Regions from separate parts of the Homo sapiens genome. Here all the other regions are linked to region 2. Evidence: promoter capture Hi-C in 16 types of primary human blood cells and fetal thymus (Javierre and others, 2016). All regions are on one chromosome and are shown on one strand. The core of a region is centred on a gene start or on the middle of the fragment in contact, and the rest is flanking DNA. Distances in the headings are between cores, read along the strand shown. Region 1 holds the start of ZNF649 (zinc finger protein 649). Region 2 holds the start of ZNF345 (zinc finger protein 345). Region 3 holds the start of ZNF836 (zinc finger protein 836).

What was found. Contacts are between HindIII fragments. The CHiCAGO score rates a contact against its expected background, and 5 or more counts as called.
Region 1: the fragment with the promoter of ZNF649 here is called in contact with the fragment with the promoter of ZNF345 in region 2 in 6 of 17 cell types (total B cells, total CD4 T cells, naive CD4 T cells and 3 more); the score reaches 9.5 in total B cells.
Region 3: a fragment that was not itself captured here is called in contact with the fragment with the promoter of ZNF345 in region 2 in 1 of 17 cell types (non-activated CD4 T cells); the score reaches 6.1 in non-activated CD4 T cells.

Annotation. Positions count from the first base shown.
Region 1 is chr19:51,903,619-51,907,804 of GRCh38, reverse strand. ZNF649 (zinc finger protein 649) reads left to right here and starts at 2,788. Exons shown (of 5, transcript NM_023074.4): 1 at 2,788-2,891. RefSeq lists enhancers at 1-638, 1,522-2,146, 2,637-2,756, 2,475-3,019, 4,110-4,186. The HindIII fragment of the contact is 3,228 bases long and covers 1,437-4,186 here.
Region 2 is chr19:36,848,717-36,852,667 of GRCh38, reverse strand. ZNF345 (zinc finger protein 345) reads right to left here and starts at 1,792. Exons shown (of 3, transcript NM_001242472.2): 1 at 1,700-1,792; 2 at 764-838. It also overlaps a transcript of ZNF790 not described here. RefSeq lists an enhancer at 2,030-2,269. The HindIII fragment of the contact is 2,588 bases long and covers 1-2,029 here.
Region 3 is chr19:52,169,838-52,174,172 of GRCh38, reverse strand. It overlaps ZNF836 (zinc finger protein 836), which reads left to right and starts at 2,552. Exons shown (of 5, transcript NM_001102657.3): 1 at 2,552-2,837. RefSeq lists a silencer at 2,384-2,433 and an enhancer at 3,014-3,153. The HindIII fragment of the contact is 1,362 bases long and covers 940-2,301 here.

The DNA.
Region 1 (4,186 bases), core at 1,539-4,038, about 15 Mb before region 2:
GACATACTTGGCACTGTGCTGGCCTTGTATCGGGGGACCTGCCCCAATAATCACGTAGGTTCTTTTCTATTTGCCTAAGCGTCGACTGGCTTGAGAAATAAAAGGACAGAGTACAAAAGAGAGAAATTTTAAAGCTGGGCCTCCGGGGGAGACATCACACATTGGTAGGATCTGTGATGCCCCACAAGCCACAAAAACCAGCAAGTTTTTATTAGGGAGTTTCAAAAGGGGAGGGAGGATACGAATAGGTGTGGGTGACAGACATCAAGTACTTAACAGGGTAATAGAATATCACAAGGCAAGTGGAGGCAGGGCGAGATCACAGGACCACAGGACCGAAGTGAAATTAAAATTGCTAATGAAGTTTTGGGCACCATTGTCATTGATAACATCTTATCAGGAGACAGGGTTTTGAGATCAACCGGTCTGACCAAAGTTTATTAGGCGGGAATTTCCTCTTCCTAACAAGCCTGGGAGCGCTATGGGAGACTGGAGTTTATTTCACCTCTGCAATCTCGACCATAAGAGACAGGTACGCCCGGGGGAGGCCAGTTCAGAGACCTACCCCTAGGTGCGCATTCTGTTTCTCAGGGACGTTCCATGCTGAGAAAAGGAATTCAGTGATATTTCTCCCATTTGCTTTTGAAAGAAGACAAATATGGCTCTGTTCCGCCCGGCTCACCGGCGGTCAGAGTTAAAGGTTCTCTCTCTTATTCCCTGAACAATTGCTGTTATCCTGTTCTTTTTTCAGGGTGCCCACATTTCATATTGCTCAAACACACATGCTGTACAATTTGTGTAGTTAACACAATTATTACAGGGTCCTGAGACGATATACATCCTTCTCGGCTGACAGGATTAAGAGATTAAAGCAAAGACAGGCATAGGAAATCACAAGGATATTGATTGGGGAAGTGATAAGTGTCCATGAAATCTTTACGATTTATGTTTACAGATTGCAGTAAAGACAGGCATAAGAAATTACAAAAGTATTAATTTGGGGAACTAATAAATGTCCATAAAATCTTCACAATCCATGTTTTTCTGCCATGGCTTCAGCCGGTCCCTCCGTTTGGGGTCCCTGACTTCCCGCAACAGCCTTGGTTGCATTTGAGCCTCTGAATATCTGTGTGGTTTGTGCAGTGAAGGGGTGGCCTGCCTCTCCACATCTGTGGGTGTTTCTCGTCAGGTGGGACGAGAGACTGAGAAAAGAAGAGATACAGAGACAAAGTATAGAGAAAGAAAAGTGGGTCCAGGGGACCGGTGCTCAGCATACAGAGGACCCGCGCCGGCACCGGTCTCTGAGTCCCTCAGTATTTATTGATCATTATCTCTACCATCTCGGAGAGGGGGATGTGGCAGGACAATAGGATAATAGTGGGGAGAGTGTCAGCAGGAAAACATGTGAACAAATGTCTCTGTGTCATAAACAAGCTTAAGAAGAAGGTGCTGTGCTTTGATATGCACATACATAAACGTCTCGGTGCATTAAAGAGCAGTATTGCCGCCAGCTTGTCTCACCTCCAGCCCTAAGGCGATTTTCTCCTATCTCAGTAGATGGAACATACAATCGGGTTTTATACCGAGACATTCCATTGCCCAGGGACGAGCAGGAGACAGATGCCTTCCTCTTGTCTCAACTGCAAGAGGCCTTCCTTCCTCTTATACTAATCCTCCTCAGCACAGACCCTTTACGGGTGTCGGGCTGAGGGATGGTCAGGTCTTTCCCTTCCCACGAGGCCATATTTCAGACTATCACATGGGGAGAAACCTTGGATAATACCTGGCTTTCTGGGGCAGAGGTCCCTGTGGCCTTCCGCAGTGTATTGTGTCCCTGGGTACTTGAGATTAGAGAGTGGTGATGACTTTTAACAAGCATACTGCCTTCAAGCATTTGTTTAACAAAGCACATCCTGCATAGCCCTAAATCCATTAAACCTTGAGTCAACACAGCACACGTCTCTGTGAGAACAGGGTTGGGGGTAGGGTTACAGATTAACAGCATCTCAAGGCAGAAGAATTTTTCTTAGTACGGAACAAAATGGAGTCTCTTATGTCTACTTCTTTCTACATAGACACAGTAACAGTCTGATCTCTCTTTCTTTTCCCCACAGTGCACTGTTGTTAGTGCTCCAACCTCACAGTGCAGGGGTTGAGGTGTCAGGAGAGGGAACACATCAGTGCCATTTCACTGTCTCCTGTGTCAAAGCAAAATTAAAATGCAGACCAGAATTCAAAAACTCCTGAGCAAACAAAACCCAGTAGGCCTTAAAAACAGCCTTAACCTTGCTTAACCTGCAAACATAAGCAACAATTCACTTGAGTCATTTCTGGTAAATGCTTGTGTTAGGGAAGGACAAAACTCAATCTCAACCGATCAAAAGTAGGCAACTCACATGCTATTATGTCATTAGGGACTTTCCAAGGCAAATTTAAAAAAATGCATTTTTATAATTGTAACTAATCAAATAATTTCTTTGTTTTACTCCTTCACTCACCCTGTGAATACTTGTGTCTAATGCTTTAAGCATAGAAGCGCGAGACTTCTTTTGGTTTGATGCTTCCTAATTCATGAATTGCTGTTTGTTCAGATAAACTCTAGAAAATGCTCCTGCGCCTCAAATTTTTGCTTTCAGGAGAGTCATCCCGGTTTAATGACACAAGAACAACTGTTTCCCTTCTGTACGGCAGATCTACCAAGATGGCCGCGCCCAGAGAGCCGTGGCTCAGGGCGCGGACATGTTACCTCCTCGAAGAGAAGCCCATGTCCCATCGTCCTAGCGCGGCAGAATTGACTCGCGCCCTCGTCCGCCGCCATAGGCCAGTGCCGGGGTTTAAGGGCCAGGAAAGGAAGCATTCAGGGAATTTAGGTGTAGCCAGAAGAAAATCAGGTGAGTGTTTGGGTCTCTCCGTGGAGTAGGTTAAAGGGGTAGGGAGCTTCTGAGGAGCCTGTGGGGAGAGCTGGCGGCCTGGGCGGTGGAGCCTTTGGGTTGGGGTGCCTTTGCGGTCCGGCGTGGGAGAGTTCTTGTGGTCGGGCGTTAAAGGTCTGTCGAGTTCAGCGACTGAGACTCGGCGTCAGAGTTTGGGGTCTCTGAGGGTCACTCTGTTAGTAGGCCTCTGGATCACTGGATGGAGAACTCTAGGGGGACGCTGCCCAGCACGCCGGCTTTATCACCGACGCCATTATTATCACTCCAAATGCTGCAGTTTAAAGTCGGTGATGAAGCCGGGGTGCTGGGCAGCGTACGAGGGTGTGTGGTGTAGGTTTTGGGGTGAATCGGGGATGTGTGTTAAGTGTTTCGGGGAGGCCCAGGCATGTGGGGCTCAGAGGCTTGTAAAATCTGGTATTTTACAAGCCCAGGCCCCTGGCTGGGGTTGAGTTGTGAAACTATAACCGCCCACCCTTGCCGGCTGCCTAGACAGAGCCGACTTGTTAAGACAGGGAAATTGCAATGGAGAAAGAGCAATTCATGCAGAGCCGGCTGTGCGGGGAGACCGGAGTTTTATTATTACTCAAATCAGTGATAAAAGAAAAATTGAAGCCGAATTAAATTTACAGGAGTTTCCTTGAGCAATGAACGATTCGCGAATTGGGCAGCCCCCAGAATCACAGCAGATTAACAGAGACTCCAGGGGTGCCTCGTGGTCAGAACAAATTTATAGACAAAAAAGGTAAAGTGACATACAGGAATCGGAAGCGAGGTCCAGAAACAGTGAGATTGGTTACCATTCGGCGTTTGCCTTATTTGAACGCAGTTGGAACATTCAGCAGTCTATGAGTATGGCCGCTGGGACTGGCCACCACTCAGCTATTGTTACAGGTGCATACGATTAAGTTCGGTTTTCAATTTTGTCTGTTAAGCTAGGTTGCAGTTTATCCACAAGGACTCAAATATAGAAGTATGGAGTCGTTCTCAGGCAATATTTAGTTTGCTTAAGCATCAGTCTCCTTGAGCATTTGGGGATCAAAGTTTCCTCCTATCCCCCAGACGGAATCTAGCTCTGTTGTCCAGTCTGGAGTGCAGTGGTGCGATCTCAGCTCACTGCAACCTCCGCCTCCTGGGTTCTAGCGACTGTCCTGCCTCAGCCTCCCGAGTGGCTGGGATTACAGGCGCCCGCCACCACGCCCGGCTAATTTTTGTATTTTTAGTAGAGACAGGCTTTCACCACGTTGGCCAGGCTGGTC
Region 2 (3,951 bases), core at 543-3,042:
AATGTTTGGTAAAACTGAAGATGTACAAACCCTACCTATTAGCACTTTTTTTTTTTTTTTTTGAGATGGAGTCTCACTCTGTCACCAGGCTGGAGGGCAGTGGCACAATCTTGGCTCACTGCAACCTCTGCCTCCCGGGTTCAAGCGATTCTCCTCAGCCTCCCAAGTAGCTGGGACTACAGGCGCGTGCCACCACGCCCAGCTAATTTTTGTGTTTTTAGTAGAGACGGGGTTTCCTCATGTTGGCCAGGATGATCTTGATCTCTTGACCTCGTGATCCGCCCGCCTTGGCCCCCCAAAGTGCTGGGATTACAGGCATGAGCCACTGCATCCAGCCACTATCAGCAATTTAATCACTAGGTATATATTCTAAAGAAATGCAAGCAAATGTGTACCAAAATATGCGCACAAAATGATCATAGTCACACTGCCTGTAGTAGCCAAAAATTACAAGACAAATGTCCATCAAGAGTAGAAGGATAAGGCCGGGCACAGCAGCTCACGCCTGTAATTCTGTCTCAAAAAAAAAAAAAAAAAAAGAAAGAAAGAAAAAAAAAAGAAAAAGAAAAATTAAAACCATCTGACAAATCAGTAAGGGAAAATCAGGTGTGGGAGGTGGGGTTTGAAGACACCACATTTTCTCAAAATGGAAACTCCAGGGATCAGGTCATCTCATAGGCAAGAATTTTCAAGAGAAGGAAAGCAACTATGTCCTGACAAAGAAAAAGGGATTTTTCTTAAACAAGAGGACAGGACAAGCTACCTTGCAGGTGCCTTGTGGATGTTCAACAGCCATTCTTTACTCCTGTTCGGAGGCCTCTATCCAAGCAGGGCAGGGCTGAGGAAGGAGAAAGCAGTCAGGAAACATCAGGTTCTTCTGAGAGGGAGTTGGTTTGACTATGTCAGAAGTTATCTTTGCTCAGCCCCTACTGCCCATCACCTACAGAGGAAGGTCAGAGAAGTCTAGGGCATCCTGCTTAATCCGGGCATCACAGACAACGGTAGGGTCAATGCCGTTCTGGGCAGAACCTGTCCCTGAGCTCACAGGGGTCTCCAATGGCTGAAGTCACAAAGACAAAGACTCCCCATACCTACATTGGCTATACGGACACATAGTCACACAAACTCACTCACACCGCAGGGACATAAACGTCACAGGCACCCCAAACCTAAACACAACACACAATCACACACTCATACACACCACGGGGGTAGACACGGACACAACCACAGAGTCCGTGGGCATCTCTCAAATTCCCAGTGACATACACCTTGGGGTCACAATGACAACAAATTCACACGCACCCTCCATCAACAATATCACCAACGCGCGCGCACACACACACACGGAAGCAGCCACAAACCTCAAAATTAAGGCATACTACACACAGTTCGGCAAATGGTAGTAAACACACACACACACACCCCAAGGGGACATACAGTCACAACCGCGGTCCAGGAACCTCACACTCGCAAACACAGTGCCCAACCCGGTCACAATTAAACTCTACTCACACCCGCACAAACATAAACAAAAAGTCCTCCTCCCCGCCCTCACAGTTCCATACACGGTCGCACAGACACACGCCCCCAGTCACAACCGTACACACTCCTCACAATCGCTCCTTAGCCTGTTCCCCACGCAGCCCACACAGGTCGGGAGTTCCTGTCGCGCCAGGCTCCGAGCCGCCTCACTTACGCCTGTTCGGATAGGGTCAGCTCCGTTCTACTAGAATCCACACAAGTCGACCCTAGCTATCTCACAAAGCCCCAAGGCCGCTTGCCCAAATCCGCGGGAAGATCCCGCCCACTCCTCAAGAGACAATCTAGTTATCGCGGGAGAGTGCCCTGGGCCTAGAGGCTTCTGGGAAGTGTAGTCCAGAAAGCGACAGGTTGCCGAAAGCTACAGCCCAGCCATCCCGATTCCCCTGGCGCGGACTCTGGCACCAACAAAACTATCTCTTTGAGGTGAGCTGCCCATCGGAGCCTTCCGGGAGTCTCACCTGACAAGGAGTCCCTAGACCAAGCTTTAGTCAGGCTCCTCTGAGCCCTTTTTGCTTGGCCAGGCCTCCTCCATAGCCTGCGAACAGCACTTCAGCAAGAATCCAGCTAAGCCAGTTTAGTAACAATCCCCCCACTCTTGATACTTAACTTCCTCTTAGTAATTTAGCATCCTTTAACTCCTTCACCCAGCCCGTTAGCTATAAATCTCCAGCTGCTGTTGTATTGGAAGTTGACTATTGCAATAGTCTTTAACCAAGTCCTTCTTGCCTGTTTAAGTCCTCTGGGGCAAGCTTTCTTTCACCCCGCCCAGCCTCAGAGGGCGGCTCCCGGGCTTCCGCCCCTCCTCGGGAGACATACTGGACCGCAGGGTCTCCTGGGAAACGTAGTCCAAGCCTCGCCGGGGATAGATGGGCCCAACTAAAGTGTGCTGCGTTCTCTGGGTCCTGAGGCGGCAGTCTGGCCGCAGTGACCAGACTAACTGTGCCCCGGAGGCTGCTTGGAATTCCACTTAACGCTGGAAGCACGCAGACGCTCTTGAGGCGGGCAGCTGCGTAGCGTGTGGAGGAGCCGGGAGAGCGCACCCCAATGTGGCACCTGAGCGTCTGGGACCGAACCAGCATGGGGAGTCGGAAGGGGACAAATCCGCGATCCCAGTCATGCATGTGAGACTGGGCAAAGGAAGGCTCGAGTGTGTGTGAGACCGCGGTGGGCCTGCTTGTGCTGGTGGGATGAGGGGTGTCTGGGTAGTTGAGTGAAAGAAACCGCGTGCGGGTCAGATTGGTGTGTGTGTGAGAGAAGTGAGGTCAAGATGTGTGCAGCTTTGGGCGTGGGGAGGTCATATTGAGTGTGTGGAGGTGGGGGGGGCAAGATCGTGTATGGATCTGTGTATGAGTGTGTGTAATCACCTGAATGTGGGTCACTGCGTGGGTAGCTGATACTATGACTGTGGAGGAATCTGAACCTCCAAGTCTCATTTTCTCTTTAAATTGTGATAACAAGGTTGTATCTTCCTGGTGCAGCAGTTTTAAAGGGGGGAAGCTCCATTACTGATATAATAAAATAGCATTTTTTATGTAAACATTTAACATTCAGACATTTCTTCTGAACTAGAGTACAAAATCAGTTATGAGTACTCCAAGTAGTTTAAAAAAGAAACCCGTCATAATAGATGCATATGGGGAAGATAAATAGTGAAAGGGGAACTTCCTTTTCACTATACTCTTGTTAAATTTTTAAAATCAATGTGAGGACTCATTTGAAAACAAATATAAAATTAAAAAACTGACAGAAAGGGGAGCTAGGAGGAAATCAATAATTTTTTAAGCTAGAAACTTTGGGAGGTGGTAGAGGTTGCCGAAATATGATGGCAGGAAGTGTATGACAACAGGAAATGCTGATGTAAAATATAATCCTGAAGCTTTTAACAATGGCAGGAAGGGCCGGGCATGGTGGTTCATGCCTGTGATCTCAGCACTTTGGAAGGCTGAGGCAGGAGGATCACTTGAGCTCAGGAGTTTGAGACCAGCCTGAACAGCATACTCTCTACAAACAAAACAAAACAAAAAAACCAAGCATGAGTGCGGTGGCTCACGCCTGTAATCCCAGCACTTTGGGAGACTGAAGTGGGTGGATCACTTGAGCCCAGGAGTTCAAGACCAGCCTGGCCAATATGGTGAAACCCCGTCTCTACTAAAAATACAAAATTAGCTGGGCGTGGTGGTGTGCACCTGTAATCCCAGCTACTTTGGAGGCTGACGCAGGAGAATGGCTTGAACCCGGCAGACAGAGGTTGCAGTGAACTGAGATCGCACCACTGCACTCCAGCCTGGATGACAGAGTGAGACTCCGTCTCAAAAAACCCCCAAAAAACAAGGGGACCTCCTCTTTCGGCTTTGGAGCCACCACCCCCCCAACCCCCATCTCTGTATGGGGGAACTTCTTCCTTCT
Region 3 (4,335 bases), core at 371-2,870, about 15 Mb before region 2:
ATTACAGGTGTGAGCCACAGCCCCCGGCCTTGGAAAAATATACATTTTTTAAATTTTATCTACTTTACAGTTTGGGCGGCCAAGGCAGGAGGCTCACTTGAGCCCAGGAGTTCAAGACCAGCATGGACAACAACGTGAAACCCTATCTCTACAAAAAATTTGAAAATTAGTCAGGTGTGGTGGCACATGCCTGTAGTGCCAGTGTATTAGTTTGTTCTCACATTGCTATAAAGAAATACCTGAGATTGGGTAATTTATAAAGAAAAGAGGTTTAATTGGCTCATGGCTCTGCAGGCTGTACAGGAAGCATGATGCTGGCATCTGCTTGGCTTCTGGAGAGGCCTCAGAAAACTTACAATTATGGCAGAAGGTGAAGGGGAGGCAAGTACTTCACATGCCCAGACAGGAGGAAGACAGAGAATGGGGAGGTGCCACACACTGTTTTTTTTGAGCCTAGGTTGGAGGGCAGTGGCACGATCTTGGCTCACTGCAACCTCCGCCTCCCGGGTTCAAGCGATTCTCCTGCCTCAGCCTCCCAAGTAGCTGAGATTACAGGTGCGTGACACCACACCCGGCTAATTTTTCTTTTTTTTTTTTTAAGAGACAGAGTCTCACCCTGTCACCCAGGCTGGAGTGCAGTGGCGCGATCTCGGCTCACTGCAAGCTCTGCCTCCCAGATTCAAGCAATTCTCCTGCCTCAGCCTCCCGAGTAGCTGGCACTAAAGGCATGCGCCACCACACCTGGCTAATTTTTGTATTTTCAGTAGAGATGGGGTTTCACCATGTTGGCCAGGCTGGTCTCAAACTTCTGAGCTCAAGTGATCCATCCACCTTGACCTCCCAAAGTGCTGGGATTACAGGCATGAAGCACTGCTTCCAGCCAAATTTCCTCTTATCAAAACATCAGTCAGATTGCATCAGAGCCCATTCTAACAAGCTTAGTTTAACTTAATAGCCTCTAAATGCCCTATTTCAAAATACAGTCATATTCTGAGGTACTGGGTGTTAGAACTTAAAGACAATGATTTATTTTATTTTATTTATTTATTTATTTTTTGAGACAGAGTCTCGCTTTGCCGCCCAGGCTGGAGTGCAGTGGCTGGATCTCGGCTCACTGCAAGCTCCGCCTCCTGGGTTCACGCCATTCTCCTGCCTCTGCCTCCGGAGCAGCTGGGACCACACGCACCCGCCACCACGCCCGGCTAATTTTTTGCATTTTTAGTAGAGACAGGGTTTCACCGTGTTAACCAGGATGGTCTCGATCTCATGACCTTGTGATCCGCCCGCCGCGGCCTCCCAAAGTGCTGGGATTATAGGCATGAGCCACCGCGCTTGGCCAACAATGATTTTTTAGGGACGTGATTCAGCTCATAACATTCTGTACTCTGGACTCCCAAAATTCATGTCCTTCTCACATGCAAGATCCCTTCACCCCCATCCTAACATCTCAAAAGTCTTATTATTATTATTTTTTGAGACAGAGTCTCACTCTGTTGCCCTGGCAGCAGTTCAGTGGTGCAAAGACAACTCATTGCAGCCTTGATCCCCTGGGCTCAAGAGATCCTCCCACCTCAGCCTCCCAAATAGCTGTGACTATAGGCGTGAGCCACCATGCCTGGCTAATTTTTGTATTTTTTGTAGAGACAAGGGTCTTACTATGTTGCCCCAGGTTGGTCTTGAATTCTTGAGCTCAAGCAATCCTTCCACCTTGGCCTCCCAAAGAGCTGGGATTACAGGCCAGAGCCACTGCTCCTGGCCCATTTCAAAAGTCTTAATCCATTTCAGTATCAAACTCTAAGGCCCAAATATTACCCAAATATTATCTGAATCACATATGGGTGAGACTCAAAGTGTGGTTCATCCTGAGGCAAAATTTCTGTCCAGCTGTGAAACTGTGAAGCCAAAGAAGCTATTTGCTTCCAAAATACAATGGTGGGACAGGCACAGGATAGACCGTCAGCCCTGGAAACCACCCTTCTACTCTGTTACTGTAATTTTGATGTTTGTAGATTGCACATGTAAGTAAGCACATGCAGGATTTGTCTTTCTGTGTCTAGCACATTTCGCTTAGCATAATGTCTTCAGGGTTCCTGGATCCAGCCACGGCTGCACATCAGATCTTCACGGAGATCCTAGTTCCCTGACTACTGAGTAACTTCAGCCTTAACTGGCTTCAGCCTCACTGGCAAGACCCGATGGAGTCCACCAGGCTCGCAAAAATCGATTTTGACTTAAATCAGTTCAACTTGACAAGAAGAAAACATCTTAGTTTCCAACAGAAGTGGACCACAACTTTAAGCTTTGACCTTAAAGTCTAAAACATTAACTTAAAATAGGCAGGAAGCAACGCTGCTTCACAGGACAAGAAATAGTCACAAATACTCCTAAATCGGGAGAACAAAGACTTGCTGGGTGGAAGGCAGAGCGAATAACAGGCCCCGCCCACCAAACAGGTCCCGCCCACACCGCCCGTCCCGCTTAGCCCACCTGGCCCCGCCCACTACCGCATCAGCCTTGCCCCACCCTTTCAGGGTTCCCAAATCTGGCCAGTCTTTCTGCCCTTTCCCTTGCGGGTCGCACCCCGCCCAGGCCCCTCTCCCGCCCCAGGTCTCTCAGTCTTTTTTCTCAGGGCGTGTAGCTTCCTGCACACCCGGAAGCAGATCGCGCGGGGAAAAGATCACAGCGCTGCGCGTCAGTTTCCGTCTACCTGGACTAAACATTTGCTTCGCCCCGTCTGCCTGAATCGAACGTGCACTTGGCAGTCTTCCCTTGTCCATACCCGTTTCCTGGGGATCGCTACGGACCTTAAAATACCAGCAACAGCCCCTTCGCCCCAAGTAAGTCTGATAATTGCTTCCCTTTCGGTTTAAAAATCTCTCTGAGGCTGTTCCTTGCTCCCTGCCTTTCTGCCTTAGGACCATGTAGACAACCCCACTCAGGTCGTGTTCCTGCTTAAAACCCTTACTGACCTCTGCTTCGGCCCTGCGCCAAGTCGAGTCCTCACTCGGGAGGTGGATTCCCGCCCGTTGCGACCCCGGAGCTTCTCCGTCGTCAGCCCCTGGAGGGGAGCGCCCGCCGTCCGGCTCCTGAAGGAGTCGCTTCTCCTCCCAGGTCCTGGGATTCTGCAGACCCTCCCTGTCCTGAGACACCGTACCCCCTGCCACCTTGTGTCCTCCTCACGCCGGGTCCTTTCGCTCCCCAGGCTTCCCCTTCACAGCCACTGCTTTTCTCGATCCCCCCCTTGGGGGAGGTCACCTGAGTCTTGTGACACCCAGTGTTCTTCCTTCCCAAATTTTACTCCACTGGAAAATATGCTTTTCCGGGAGGTGGGCATCCTATTCCTCCCCTTTCTTACTGAATGTGTGGGTGAGAGGGATCAGGAGAGGAAAAGAAGGGGAGCGACGGAGCAAAAGGAAAGACCGAATAGAAGAGAATGAGGGAGACCCATAAATACACGGCAAAATGGATGATAATTTAGGGATTTGCAAAGAGACAGCAAGAGTGAAAGAGAACGAATGGAGAAAGAAGCAGGGGGAGGAAAGCACACAGAGAAATTTAGAAAAAAAGGGGGACCTTCAGAGAGATGAAAGGCAGCAAAATAGAGTGGGGCGGCAAAGGAGGAGGCACTGCAGACAGACAGTGGGGAGAAGGTGAAAGAGTTGGAGCCGCAGCCGACAGAGCTACGTGGTGCTGGGACTGAAAGAGAGGGAGAGAGGGCAGTGGGTGACAAGCAGAGTAGAGGGAGAACCACAGCAGGGAGGAAGCCTAGGGAGTTGGGGGTGCTAGAGAGTGGGAACAAAGGAGGTGTAACAGGTAAGAGGGAATTTTAACAAGGAGAGCAGAGAGGGAGCTCAGATGGGGAAAAAGAGGCGGAAATACGTGGAGATTGGGGACAATCAGAAAGATTGGGGAGAAAGAGCTACGAGAGGTGAAGTAAGTTGCAGAGCATCGGGCAGAACAGACATAAAGAGGAGAAAAACAGAAAAGGGGAGGAAAGGTGCAGAATGAGAGAGGGACACACACAATAGTGAAGAAAGTGGGAGAGGACCCCATCCAGATGAGCGATGAGTTGATTGGATATGGATGGTGGTTGTAATATTCTAATTTGTGACTTTATACTCTAATTTAAAATTCATTTCTTTAAATTGTACTCGTGAGGATGAAAATTACCACTCTTTTCTGTAAGGCTTGTGCATTTTGTATTTATTTGTATCAAAAGATATTTGGAATTTCTGTTTAGCCAGAGAGCATTTAAATTAAGTCATTCGTGGTAACTCTTTTCTTCCCTGGGATGGGGTAGAGGATAGAGTAACTGAGAAATGGGGCGATAAATGA